5 separate regions of the Homo sapiens genome follow, and all the other regions are linked to region 4. The links are contacts of gene promoters, found by promoter capture Hi-C in blood cells and fetal thymus (Javierre and others, 2016). All regions are on one chromosome and are shown on one strand. The core of a region is centred on a gene start or on the middle of the fragment in contact, and the rest is flanking DNA. Distances in the headings are between cores, read along the strand shown. Region 1 has its middle 62 kb from the start of MKI67. Region 2 has its middle 50 kb from the start of LINC01163. Region 3 has its middle 37 kb from the start of MKI67. Region 4 holds the start of CLRN3 (clarin 3). Region 5 has its middle 69 kb from the start of LINC01163.

Region 1 (2,700 bases), core at 16-2,515, 300 kb before region 4:
ATAGTAGTTATCAGTGCATAATGGACCTAGACATGTTGTTCTTGTTTTTCTTTCTACATTTTGTATTCTACAATAAAGATGTAGGACTTTTATAATAAGGCATTGTTTTCCTAAGCAGTTGAATTGGATGCAAGAGCAGGTGACAATCCTGTCACTCCCTGTTCCTGGCAGCCACCTCCACCGCACTTCACCAGATTCTTGACAGTGTCTCCTCAACATCTCCTGATCTCATCTCTTTCTCTCCACCCTCGCCTCCCTGCTCCACTCCAAGCCGGCATTGTCTCTTGCCAATACTATTACAACATGACATCGTCCCCTCTTTCCCACCATCTGACACCCACCCTGAAGCTAGAGTGATCCTCTAAGTAAAAACCACATGATGTGCCCCTCTCTTTCTTACCCCACTTGAGATCCTTTCATGGTCTCACTTTGCTAAGAAATAAAGTACAAAGTCTTTAGTGTGAGCTGAGGAGTCCTCCAGGATCTGACCCCAGGGCACCTCTAAGACCTCATCTCATGGGGGTGGTTAAAGGTGCATCCTCCAGAGTCTGAGGGCATAGGTTCAAGTCCTAGTTTTGCTGCTCACTCCACTTCCCCCTGCCCAGGTATTTCCATGTGTCCCCACCTGCCTTCTGCAGAGCTCTGGGGGCGCTGCCTAACACCCAGGAGCACTCAGCAAATGTTCGCTGTCACTGTCAATGTGTGAGCACCTTGCATATTGATTATTGCTGGGAAAGGAAAAGGGACAACTGAAATGATTCTTGGCTTTCTGATTGCATCATTAGCTGGAAAGCAGAGCTGTTACCAACAAAATTCCCCAAAGGAAACAGGTTTGATGAGTTCAGCTTTAGACTTCCTAAAGCACCTGGGGGGACAGAACTGGGGCTCAGGAAGGACATTCAGCTCAGAGATGGTCTCAAGTTGCCAGCTGACCAGTGGTTGTAAAAGCTGTGGTGTGGGCAAGATGATCCAAGGGAAATAGATGGGTGGGGTGAACAGAACCTCGGAGAACCAACATTCAAAGAAACTGGTGAAAAAAAAGAAACCCAAGAAAGAGGCCAGAGAAACTGGCCTGAAAGGGTTAAAAAAAAAAAAAAAGGCAAGGCTAGCACTTCAGAAGCAAGACAAAGAAGGGTGCCAAGGGGAGGGGGTGGCTGAAGAGCCAGGCACTTAGGTCTCACCAGTCCAGGAGCATCCATGTGTTGGGTGTAACAGGCTGGCAGTCACCAGAGCTCTCTCTTCTCAACGTTGGAATCCTCATGAGGTGGAAATGAGCACACACATCTAAGTATTTTTCTTGTCACATAGCTGGGATGCTTTGTTTTTTGGGTTTTTTTGTTGGGGGCAGTGGTTCTTGCTTAAATCTCACCTCTCTTATAAGACTCCTCCCAGCCATCCTTCTAAATAGACTACCTGTGGCCCCTCCATCCCTGGCATCCTTGATCCCTTGCTCAGTTCTGCTGTCCCTTCTTTCTACACCACGTTCACCTTCTAACCTGCTGCATGATTGACTGATTCCAGTCCTCATTTGTCTTCTGAGTCTGAGCTAGCTACAGGAGAGGAGGATGCTTTATTCGTTTGTTCGCTGACATAGTTTAAGCACTTAGAACAAGGTTGGTACCTCGTGGATGTACAATAAATATTTGTGGTCAAAACAGTTTTGATATACTACAGACCCACAACCAGGTCTCTTAGGAGTTGGCTGGGAAGACAGCCTATTACCCAAAACTTTTCCTGTTTGGAAAAACTCTCTGAAAACACCTCCAGGACCAGTCCTCTTCTCTTCTAAGCAATACTGATGAGAACAAATGCCTCTTTCATTTTCATTTGAGGCAGCTGCAGCTGCCTCGCCCCTGCTCCCGGATACACTTGGGCTTGAGGCGTGAATCTCTACAAAGCCCTGGTGGGGAGGAACCCGAGACTGTCCCCAGACAGCGACCTCCTGTGCAGCTGCCGTAATGAAGGAACAGACCTGAAAGGCAGAACCCACTGGGCTCGCTGCCCCCGAAACAGGGCGCAGAGGAGAGGGCTCCTCCCCATCTCCCTCAGCTGCACCTCGTCTTCTCTCAACATCAAAAACAGCTCTCCAACGATTTTTTTTAATGGAACAGAAAAACTGTTCTTTATCAAGATAGAGCAGGGCAGCCATGTGCTTTTCATAAAACTGATTACAGAGACCAGATGAAAGAAGTTGACGGGGTCAAGCTGCATTTTGCCTTCCCCCGTGTTCTAGGATGGGGAAATGTTTTTCATTATATTCGTTAAAAGTTCACCACCATCTGATAAGAATCTTGAGAAAGGGCATGCGTGTTGCTAAATTAGCCCTAAAAGGGGACAACTTAAAGTAAAATAAATCTGACTTAAACATGAGCTCAAGTTACCCACCTCGGACTTCCAGAAGGGATGGTTGCTAGGAAGCATTTGAAAGGGGCTCATCCAGCCAGCCACAGTGGCACCCAAGGACTAGGAAGCATGGCAGTCTCACCATAATTATAATAACTGGAACACATTGGCCGGGCATGGTGGCTCATGCCTGGAATCCCAGCACTTTGGGAGGCCAAAGCTGGAGGATCACTTGAGGCCAGGAGTTTAAAACCAGCTTGGGCAACATAGCCAGACTCCCATTTCTACAAAAAAAAAAAAAAATTAACTTTGCCAGCTGTGGTGGCATGCACTTATAGACCCAGCTACTGAGGAGGC
Region 2 (2,700 bases), core at 115-2,614, 340 kb before region 4:
CAGAAGCTGGATCTGGGAGTGGAGGGATTTGACTAGGATCAGGGTAAACCAACTGAGCCTGCAATGGGTGACTGGGTAGGGCTGTGGGGAGACAGAGGGCCAAGGTGGAAGTAGATGTCACAAAACTTTTCCCCAGAATTGAAAATCCAGGTGAACCCAAGTCAGCAAAAAGAGGGGCTGAGCAACTTTTCAGAATGGCTGGACGTGACCAGTGGCTGCAATACCAGGGCTCTGAAATCAGTGGTGTTTGTTGTGAAATCAGCTGGAATCCCAAAGCAGAGGTAAATGTGTGTTTAGAGTGTGTGGGAACATTTTTCCTATACTTGATTCCAGCCTGTCCACCCCATCAGCTGATGAGGCTCAAAGCCAATTCCAGCCATCACAGCTCAGCCAGCTGGACTAGGTGTCCAGAGTGGATGCAACTGACCTGAGACAACCTCGCCCTCCTCAGCCCATGGACATACACAATCTTCCAGGGACATCCTATAAGGATGAAAAGAATGCCAGATTCAATGGGAATTGGAGTCCATCCTATGTCTTAGATTGTAAAATATGTCACAGAGAACACAACTTATCCAGCATTTCCCATTTTCAGTGGGTGTTGACTACAAGCATTTACATTAGAAATTGCACCATAGAGTTCAGCTTAAAATTTATAGCAAAAAAAGTGCTTCTCTTGGGGGTAGGGGAAATATGGGCATACTCTGGACTTTGTGCTCAAGCTTGCTATGAACCTAAAACTACTCTAAAAAATAAAGCCTATATATAAAAAGAAAAATGATGCCTCCTACCCAAGCCATTCCCCCCAAAGATCCCAGCTGATCTTGTTGAACCCACCTTCCATGTGGAGCCCTGTGCTCTGCTGGAGTCACCCAGGTGCCTGTTGGTCTGCTGTTCTTCACTCAGTTCCTCCTTCACTCCCCATCTCCCCTTCCTCTGCTGCATGCACAGGCACAGCTGGGTGTGCACATGAGGGTGCCTGCATGTGAGTGCAGGCACATACGTGTGTGCATGTGTGTATGCGCATGTGTTTTCCATTCCTTCGTCCTCTCTGTGTGGCACTCTCCTCCTCCTCCCTCTACTCAACTCCTCTATGACACTGAGCTCTGCTGTCTAACGTAGGCATAGACACCTCCATGCCCCCACTGTTGCCCTTGCAGGTGGTTCCAGGTGGACACATTGTCATTTGCTTTCTTGAAGGACACTACTTTGCCACTTTAATTTCTTATACCAGAATCCAAACCAACCATGATTTTGGCTGAAGGGAGGAAGGGATTGGGAGACACAGACCTCTGAAGATGCCCTGAGCTTTGTATTCAGATTTCCTGGTTCCATGCTAGCACCTTGCCCACTGTGCTACCAGGGCTATTACTCAACCTCTCTGTGTCTCATTTTCCTCATCTGTAAAATGGGGGTAATAACATCAAATACCTGGTGGGGTTGTAGGACAAATCAATGGGCTCATGCACGTAGGTCCTTAGCACAATACCTGACACTTACTGAGTGCTCCATAACTGTTAGCCATTGAAGTCAAAATTATTTAATGTTACCTAAAATTATTCAGGCTTAACAGTAATTTTTAGAATCACCAAAGAAAGTTTTCAAGGCACAGAAAATGTTACCAAAATCATAGCATTTGCAGTAACTTAGTCTTGGAAACTCAAGTGATCAAATGAGAAGTTGGTATTTCTAACAAATCAGTTTGGATTAGGACCGTGCCGAGTCTGCTGTTCACTGGGCAAGAAGGCACCGGGTCATCCCTTGACAGCCCCTACCCAAGTGTGGGATACGCATCATTCCCCATGGCAGCACAGCAGGGAACTTCGCTGCTTCACTGCCCTCCCTCCACGGCTATTCTTTCAACATACATGTTGGTATTATATGCCAGGAACAGTAAAGGGCTCTGTTGGGCCTTTTTCTAGGTCAACCCTCAGATCAATGGAATGGTTGTTGGACATGCCTTCCCATCTCAATGTTCCCTTTCCCAGCCCATAAACCAAGCTTCACTGTGCACAAGAAGACCTGAGTTACTTCACACACCCATGAACTTCTCCAGGACCTTGAGGCTGCTGTTTGAAATAAGCGATAGCTTTGTGAACAATAACACAAACTTATAACGAATGTGTTGATCCCACTTGGCCATCAGGAGTGACAGGCAGGCCTGCCGTCACTTTCCCAAGGCCCTTCCAAGCAACTCAAAGAATGAAAGGAATTAGAACCCCTGACACCTGACCCCTGCAGATCCAGGCAATCCCACTGTCTTCAGGAGGCAGGAAAACAAAGGGTGAAATCAGAGGCTTCCTAGGGCACGGGGTCCGAAATCAGAAACTCCCTCTAGCCTCATCAATAAGCCATAAGGAGCCAAGAGAAAAGCTCTCAATTTCCCTTTAGACCCACACTGGCCCTGTCCTCTCCTGCAGCCCCAGGGAGAGCCCTGCATTCCTGGCTGCCATCTGGCCTCCAGGCCCAGGGACTCTCTCTGGCTGGCCACGTACTTGTATATCTCAAGTATTGTGTTTCTGGTTTCTGTGGCTTCCCTACCAAGGAGACGTAAGAATGAGGCTGGTCTCCATCATTGCAGTGACACCTGATGGTCCCCAGGGACCTAATATTTATTATGCTGGGCATGCTAGGTTGCTACTAAAAATTTAATCCATTTTTTCTCCTCAAACTCCCAGGCAAGTTTTAGAATTCTTATTA
Region 3 (2,712 bases), core at 115-2,614, 270 kb before region 4:
GGTTTAAGTTGACTTTTCAGACTCAAAATTTTTGTACCTATCTTGAAGAATAACTCACTAATTTGCTTATTCCACATCCCAGCTTTTAAATTAATAAAAGCAGTCATTCCTTTTGAGTATAAATGATATTTTCTTACAAACAATGAGAAAATAGTGATCTAAAACTGGCATTTTCTGCTCACATAAAATCCTAACGCTGCCTTAAATGTTGGCAACCAGAGTTTCCTGGCCCCCTGAGCTGTGGATGGTGACGGAGGCCTCTCCCTGAGACTCCCACAGCCCAGGCCACACAGTAAGATGCTCGTTTGCTTTCATTGCTGTTCTTTTCCACTGAACTTTTTTGCACCACCATTTCCCCTGCCTAAGGCTGGCCCTCCACGTCCAGTCTCAGAACCCAGGAATTTGAGGTGTCACAAAGAGTACTACATGGGAAGATTCTGACCAGAGACCCGAGGGAGGGAGCTGTGTTTAAGGAAAGATAGAAAGGGAAAGCCCGTTTGTGGGGTGCCTGTGGTTTGCTTGTGTGTTTTCCATATGCCAGTTCATTTAATTCTCACAGCTTCCCTGAGAAGCAGGCTTTTTACCCTTTCACCGATGAGAAAATCAAGACTCAGAGAGGTTTGGAAACTGGCAAAAAGCCACACATCCTGTTGCAAAGCCAGGACTCCAACCTGCTCTGCCTCATTCCAAAGCGCATTTCCACTGTAGCGTCTAAATTGAGTTGTAAGAAACCTGGATCCTCTGTAATACAAGCTGATGATCTCAAACCAACTGGCCCAAGACCACATCGAGAGGCCCTGATAGATCAGGACCAGTCCAGGAGGTTGAAATGAGGGGGACCCATATGTTGCCCTCTCTTTGGGGGACTTTGTAAATGGCAAATCAAGGGCCGGATTCAGCAAAAGTTAAAAAAACACTAGAGCTCCAAGAATAGCAGTGCAGGACACTTTGCTAAGAAATTATCCAGGCCACTGAGGCTGTAACAACCTACAGAGTCCCTGATATTCCCATTTTAGGGATGGAGAAACTGAGGCCCACACAGGCTAAGCAGCTGCCAATGACAGGGGATCTGGGGTCCAACTCACCCTGAGTGCCCAGCTCCCCACCAGCTGCCCCAACAAAGGGGCTTCCTTTAGAAAAGACCCTCATTCTCAGGTAACCAGCCCCACGGCTGGCTTCTCTGGAAGCCCTCGTGGGTGCCCCTCCCACCCAGCCCACTCTACACGCAAAACCCAGTTCAACAACTCTCCATGATGCCGGCTGGGTTTGTGCTGCCTGTGGAGCTGGGAACCTAAGGGGCGTCACTAATAACCTGGTGCTGAGATATAGGGACAGGGATCGCTCTTGTCCTGTGGTCTCGGCATGGCTCTGTGGGAATAAAAGGCGGACGGTAGTACCCAAAGCAACACCCATTCCCTATGAGATGGGACAGGTCCTGTTAACACTAATAAGGCACCATTCACTTCATGAGTAATATTCCAGCATGCCGGCTGAAGAGGTGCATTTATCCACTTCTACATTAATATTCTATTATATAGTAAAAAGACTTGGCCGGGCATGGTGGCTCATGTCTGTAATCCCAGCACTTTGGGAGGCCAAGGCGAGCAGGTCACCTGAGGTCAGGAATTCGAGACCAGCCTGGCCAACATGGCGAAAGCCTGTCTTTACTAAAAATACAAAAATTAGCCAGACGTGGTGGTGCACGCTTGTGGTCCCAGCTACTCGGGAGGCTGAGGCAGGAGAATCGCTTGAATCTGGGAGGCGGAGATTGCAGTGAGCTGAGATCACGCCACTGCAATCCAGCCTGGGCAACAGAGTGAGATTCTGTCTCAAAAAAGGAAAGAAAAGACCAAAAAATGCTGAGATATATTTTGAGATTGTAATCAGTTATAATTAAATGTCTGTAAACTCATTTAGATACCATCATTCTGCCATTATTCTGAGCTCTTTTTTATTTTTTTTTAATGAAATCTTGAATTCTGGGGCTCTATCATTCATGGAAGGAGTGGGTGGTGGGGTCAGAAGTGTCCATCCTCCAGCAGGGAGAGTGCACCCTGGGAGGGTCCCCAGACACCGGGCAGCCAGCGTGAGGGTGAGGAGCTGCCAGTTCTGTTTCTCTTCTTGCCTGTTCTTCACACTTGTATGTGCCTTCTTCTTCCTTTTTCTGCCCATACTTATACTTTCTGCTCCTAAATGTTTGGGAGGCAACCCAAAAAGCAGCCTGGCCGCAGGTGAGGAAGGACGGTTAACAAGTCCGGAGAGATCGGTGGTAACCAGAGTGTGCTCAGCCCTTAGTGTGGGGCCAAGAACTAAGGACTTTTTCTCATGTTTGTTGAGGAGGTGAGGAGAAAAGCAACACAAAAAACATTCTGTTCTAAAAGCCTTCATGGAAAGAAGACAAGGCCTGTAAGGAGAGAAGAGAGGGGGGCAGGAAGTTGTAAGGAGGCCATAGAATGGTCCAGAGTGGCAACTAGTAGGGGCAAGAGCTGTTAGGGAGACAGTGGGGCTGAGAAGGAATGGCCAGTGCATGGAAGACCAGGAGTGGGGAAAAGGTGAGACGTGGCAGTGAGTCCGGAGGACAGCGGTGAGCCCCTCCCATAGGGACCCTCCTGCGTAAAGGTGGTCTTGTAGAATCATAGACTGCTGGGCCTGGAAGGGATGCTGCCTGGGGGAGAGCTGGCATCTCAACTGGACACAGGGAAGTCCAGGAAG
Region 4 (2,700 bases), core at 179-2,678:
GTAGCAACAGCTTCAGTAACATTCACAGACTTTGACTCACTTCTAGAAGTCTAACCAAAGAAATAATCAGAGATATGGACAAAGGTTTATGCATAAGGATGTTCATGCATTGTTCTTCCTTAATCATAATTTTAAGATAGAAACAACATAAGTGTCCACAGTAGTAGAGTATGTGTGTACGTATCTCCAATAATTTATTGAACAAATGTTTGCTGAGTGTCTTCTCTGGGCCAGGCTCTTTGAGAGTTCCCTGGAATCCAGTGGTACACAAAACAAACATGTCCACCTCCCGGAGCATGTCATCTAGTTACAATAACGGAAAAGACAGATGATCAGCTAGTTCCACAAATAAGTTAGGTGTTAATGAAGAAAAGTAGAGGATGAAGTAATTGCGTTTTTTTGCCATTAAAAGTAAATGTAACTTTTAATGGCAAAAACTGCAATTACATTTGCACCAACTTAATATTATATTACTAAATAATCAAAGAATACAGTAAAAAGCGGTATGGAAAACATGCTATGAATGTCTATTTATCATCTCAAGAAATGATCTTTTCGCCAAATGGGAGAGTTTTTCGAAAGTCCAGAAATGACCATTTATAAACTATTTACCATTCAACAGAGTGGATACAGCTATAACGACCAAAAACAAGAATGTTCAGAACCATCTCTATCAGAGTACTAAAAAGTAATAAAGATGAAACTTCTCAAGATATAATTTAAATAATACGCAAATATGATCCAATTTGAAAGAGGAAATTTGAAAGCCAAACCTCTCTGATAAAGTCTAAAAATAGAGAGGTATAAAACATAAGGAGGTGTAAGCTTTTCTCTTTCCACTCCACAGTACATTTGACAAAGGTTTACCCTCCTTAGGATTCCTCTTGGAACAATTATAAGAGTCAAATCACTAATGAGTAAAGAAACTGAGCAATGCATAGCAAAAACTTCAGAAAAATCCACAGACTTCGTCAAACTTCTAGAAGTTTAAGCAAGGAAGCAAGTGGAGATATGAACAAAGGTTTATGCCTAAAGATATTTGGGTGTTGTTCTTTCTCAATCATAATTGTGAAATTGAAGCAACATAAATATCCACAATAGTGAAGTATATGTTTACATATTTCCAATAATTCTTGGAGGAGTTGGGGTTTCATGTTGTTGTCTGCTAGACTCAGCAACGCTTTGGGAATACAGATCCTCCACGCCCTATTATTTAGGAATTCTACTCCTGTCATGATATGGTAGGCTAAACTTGCTTCCATGACACTTGGCCAAGGATTATAAATTAATTGCATGATTGAGGAAGTCCCTGGGAAGACCATGCCCACCCCTTGTTCATGCTGGTTGGCTGTAACCATAGCAGCCTCTTACTCCAGACCAAAGTTCAGCTACTGTTAATTTTATGGCCATGTTCAGAGTTCAATGTCCATTAGCATAACCCTTCCTCAGGAAGAGTGAGATTTTATATTTGACAATAAAGTGTTAGACTCCATTTCTAAATACCAGACTTCAAAAGATAAGGTTCAAAAGTGTTATAAGAAGATATTCCTTTTTTTGTCCTAGAGAACTTATTTTCCTGTGAAAATGCCTACCACAAAGAAGACATTGATGTTCTTATCAAGCTTTTTCACCAGCCTTGGGTCCTTCATTGTAATTTGCTCTATTCTTGGGACACAAGCATGGATCACCAGTACAATTGCTGTTAGAGACTCTGCTTCAAATGGGAGCATTTTCATCACTTACGGACTTTTTCGTGGGGAGAGTAGTGAAGAATTGAGTCACGGACTTGCAGAACCAAAGAAAAAGTTTGCAGGTAAATGATAAACTAATTTGAATGAATATAGTGAGATTGAATTAAGGTTTATGTCATTCTATATTTGGGCCAAATAACCATTCAAAAATAATTTCTTTGTAAGTTTTGGGTTAGGCTGAAGGTACAAGCTTAACTCATAATTTTGGAAATTTGCCATGTCATTATTTGAGCTTCCTCGGTTCTCCTTGTGTCTATTAATACAATAGTCTATATCATTCTAGCAGTGGCTGTATTTAAATAATACCTACCAAGTTGACTGACAAGTAAATAAGTAAAAATATGTGGCAGCAATACGGCATTGAATAGCCAGTAGGAACACATGTTTTAACTGTATTGACTGGGTTTTTAGCTGGAGCCACAACCTCTGTCTAGAACTTCACAAGTGGCATCTATGCAGGAAAGAGTAAAATGGAAAATTTATTATCTCTATTTCTCAAGTTCATTTCTTTAACTGATTTTAATTTACCTCCAAAAAATCTAATCGTTGGAAATTATATTAAATTTCCATTAATTTATTAATTGTATATTTGATAGGAATTCCTAAACATTTTTTTTTCTGATTTCTTATATAATAATGCCCTCCTCTCCATGGAAGTAAAATTAAAAGTTCATTGAGAATAATAAGTTGATTTAGCTACTTATTTGACTTTTGAGGTTTGATAACCTACCTTCATGTTTTCTAAATTTAAAAACATTTGTAAATTATGTAACACATTAAGTGGACTTTGTTTTGAACAATGTTGTATGCAAGTATTATACAGGCATTATTGGGTATCATACAGTCATTACCTTTTGACTTATAAATATGCATCATTTTCTACCTTATACACATGTAATGTTTAGTCCTTGTGTAATGCATGAAGAAGTTTGAGTCCTAGACACTAGCT
Region 5 (2,700 bases), core at 83-2,582, 320 kb before region 4:
AAATAATAATAAAAGCATAATATAGTAAATACATAAGCCAGTCACATGGTCGTTTATCATCATTAGCAAGTATTATGTACTGGACATAATTGGGTGCATTAGACTTTCAAATGACCAGCAACACAAGAGGTTTGTTTACACCAGCATCACCGCAAACACGAGTCAGGTGTTGCACAGGCGTCATGAGGGCCACACTGGTACCAGGCAATAGGACTTTTCAGCTCAGCTCCAGTATCATCTTATGGGAGCACGGTGGTGCAAGCATTGGGTTGTTGACTGAAACATTGTCATGCAGCTCATGGCTGCATTGGAAGGCCAGGGTCAGGAGAGGGAGACACATAAGGTCAACGGCTTGTAGAGATCCTGAATGTGACCTGGGGAAATGCCTTTGTTGGGGGTGGGTTGTGGGAAAGGTCCATGAGTGTGGTTGCTCTACAAGAGTCAGGATGAGGCAGTGGGGAGGAAATGGTAGCTGCAAGTGTGGGCTACTCAATACAAAAAGTTTGTGGGGAAAAAAAAATCTAAGCACAAGCAATAGATGTGTCAAACCGACGTTTGTCTCAGGAGGGAGGAGACCAGGCAGTGCCTGCAGGCGTAACCGTGGAAAAGTGGGGTGCAGGGCTCTGAGGTGGGGTTCTGCCACTGCAATCAGTCAAGAGCAGCAGGCCTGACTCTAGGGACACCTCCTCTGGAAAATTAGAAATCCATTTTCCAAGTAATTCTACTTGTGTTCTCTCACTTTTCAGATTTATTTCTGGCAATATCTTCTGTTTCTTTCCTTCCCTTAAAAACATGACTTTTTAAAATAAATCCTCTATTTCTTGGTCAACTGGCCAAATATCACATACTTTGCTTGTCAAAATTCAGTCCTTCTAAGATGTTAAGGACAAAACACCCCCAAACAACTGGTCTGTTCAGAAAGGGAAGCTATTATATAAGAGCAGGTTGTGAATTTTTTTCAGGATGTGAAAATATACACTTTAATTTCACAAGTTACTAATTAGTATAGTAGGACAAAGTCATAATCCAAAACAATAATCTTTATTACCAAAATAGAGATTAAACACAATTAAAATGAACAATATTACCAGCCATAATTGCTAATCAATTAGCCGAGAAGCTATATTACTGTAATCTTCCTAGTCTCCACTTTGCCCTTCCTATATCTTCTCAGTGTTTATAAGATGGAGATGAGTTAAAAGGACCCATCTGCAAAGCCCTTTTTTAATTATAGGCTTGGCATCCAGCCGCCTCATCCTCTGCTGTGAGCATTTCCACCCACCTGGTGCGTGGGAACCCGCCCCCTAATTTTGAAGGTCAAAGCCAGGTCCAGCAGGCATTTTCCAGCTGCATGGGGTCATCACAGCCATCAGCAAGCCCAACAGGCAGCATCTACTTCCCCAACTGTCCTCCCGTCTTCCTACTCCAAACACCCACATTCTGAATGTCCAGCCCACATAGCACACGCACAGCCTCACTTTCATAAAGGCCAGACCACAGGATGTGGTAGAGCATAGGAATGATTAGTCTTTCATCGCTCACGACAAACTACAGGGAAGGTTGACCCCCATGCCCAATGAACTAAGAATCCAAAATGACATGTTGAATTTGTGAACATAATCTTTCTCTGAATGTTAAAACGACATCAGCCACCCCCAGCAAGAAGGTTGTGAACATCAAATTTCATGGCTCACCTTATTTTTTTTAAGTGTGGCCGAAGCTAACTTCTGCAGTCTGAGCCCTGTCCCCGCGCACGGGTTGGATGGAGCTCTGAGGAGTCAGATGCAGACTCGGTGTCACTCACCTACGGCAGGCCTGATTGGCCATGGAGTCTGGGCGGGACAAAGGCCTCCTTGGGAAGGAAAAGCCCCCGCTGCAGAAAGAGTCACTGTAGAGGGCAGGGGCATGGGTGCAGATGGCTTCAGACAGCCCCTGCTCATTAAGAACTCTTGTAAATCTCTGAAAATCAGGCTGCATGGTGGGGAAATACCAGGCATGGAAGCACCCTGGTCCCCAGACACCGCATCCACCCCATTCCCTTCCAGCTCCAGTGGAAAACGCACTCACCAAGGGCTCTTTTGCCTCCTCCCTTCTGTCAGCCACTTTGGATACAACAGAGTGGATTCTCTACACCAGGCAGTGGAGAGCGGCCCTTCCCAGCTCCTAATGCCTGCAGACGGGGTCAGGCTTGAGGGCCAGCCCGGAGGAAGATGCCACAGATGCCACTGCCCGTGTCCAGCTGGGAGTCACCTCTCTTCCTGCCTCTGCTGGCTTATGCCACACTGTGCACAGCTGTGGACAAGGTTTGCAGACGAGGGAGCTGCCCCACAGGTTCAGTTGTGTGCTCTGAACCACCCCCCAGCCCCAAAAAGCATCAGGAGGGCAAACCAGTTGCCAAAGAAGGAAGCTCCCAGAAACCTCTAATTGCCCCAGCCAAATTTTAGGGCCAACCAGATGCACTTGCTATGAGAAACCCCAGGAGGTATAAAGGAGAAACTGAGGCTCAGGAAAGCAAAGGGGTTTACAGGAGGCCACACAGTCCATCTGTGGAAAGACAAGGTCCTCACTTCTCCCTTCTGGGCTGGCCACTCTCTGAGTCTCCGAGCCATTCTCTGCATTCGTAGCGGGGCCCTCTGCCCTCTGCCCTCCACCTGCCCTGGCCACCCCCCCCCTCCACTGTGTGTGCCAAGAACCCAGGAC

Evidence for each region. The method cuts DNA at HindIII sites, captures the fragments that hold promoters and counts their contacts. A CHiCAGO score of 5 or more calls a contact.
Region 1: a fragment that was not itself captured here is called in contact with the fragment with the promoter of CLRN3 in region 4 in 4 of 17 cell types (monocytes, M0 macrophages, M2 macrophages and 1 more); the score reaches 7.4 in monocytes.
Region 2: a contact is called between a fragment that was not itself captured here and the fragment with the promoter of CLRN3 in region 4, in 2 of 17 cell types (monocytes and neutrophils). The highest score is 6.0, in monocytes.
Region 3: a fragment that was not itself captured here is called in contact with the fragment with the promoter of CLRN3 in region 4 in 7 of 17 cell types (monocytes, M2 macrophages, M0 macrophages and 4 more); the score reaches 14.1 in monocytes.
Region 5: a contact is called between a fragment that was not itself captured here and the fragment with the promoter of CLRN3 in region 4, in 4 of 17 cell types (monocytes, M0 macrophages, M2 macrophages and 1 more). The highest score is 9.5, in monocytes.

What each region holds. Positions count from the first base shown.
Region 1 is chr10:128,186,889-128,189,588 of GRCh38, reverse strand. No RefSeq gene overlaps it. Among named protein-coding and RNA genes, the nearest start is that of MKI67, 62 kb to the right of the region's middle. The HindIII fragment of the contact is 5,504 bases long and covers 1-2,700 here.
Region 2 is chr10:128,234,669-128,237,368 of GRCh38, reverse strand. No RefSeq gene overlaps it. Among named protein-coding and RNA genes, the nearest start is that of LINC01163, 50 kb to the left of the region's middle. The HindIII fragment of the contact is 1,279 bases long and covers 725-2,003 here.
Region 3 is chr10:128,161,848-128,164,559 of GRCh38, reverse strand. No RefSeq gene overlaps it. Among named protein-coding and RNA genes, the nearest start is that of MKI67, 37 kb to the right of the region's middle. The HindIII fragment of the contact is 6,337 bases long and covers 1-2,712 here.
Region 4 is chr10:127,891,669-127,894,368 of GRCh38, reverse strand. It overlaps CLRN3 (clarin 3), which reads left to right and starts at 1,428. Exons shown (of 3, transcript NM_152311.5): 1 at 1,428-1,813. The coding sequence starts at 1,585. The HindIII fragment of the contact is 797 bases long and covers 828-1,624 here.
Region 5 is chr10:128,216,046-128,218,745 of GRCh38, reverse strand. No RefSeq gene overlaps it. Among named protein-coding and RNA genes, the nearest start is that of LINC01163, 69 kb to the left of the region's middle. The HindIII fragment of the contact is 7,504 bases long and covers 1-2,700 here.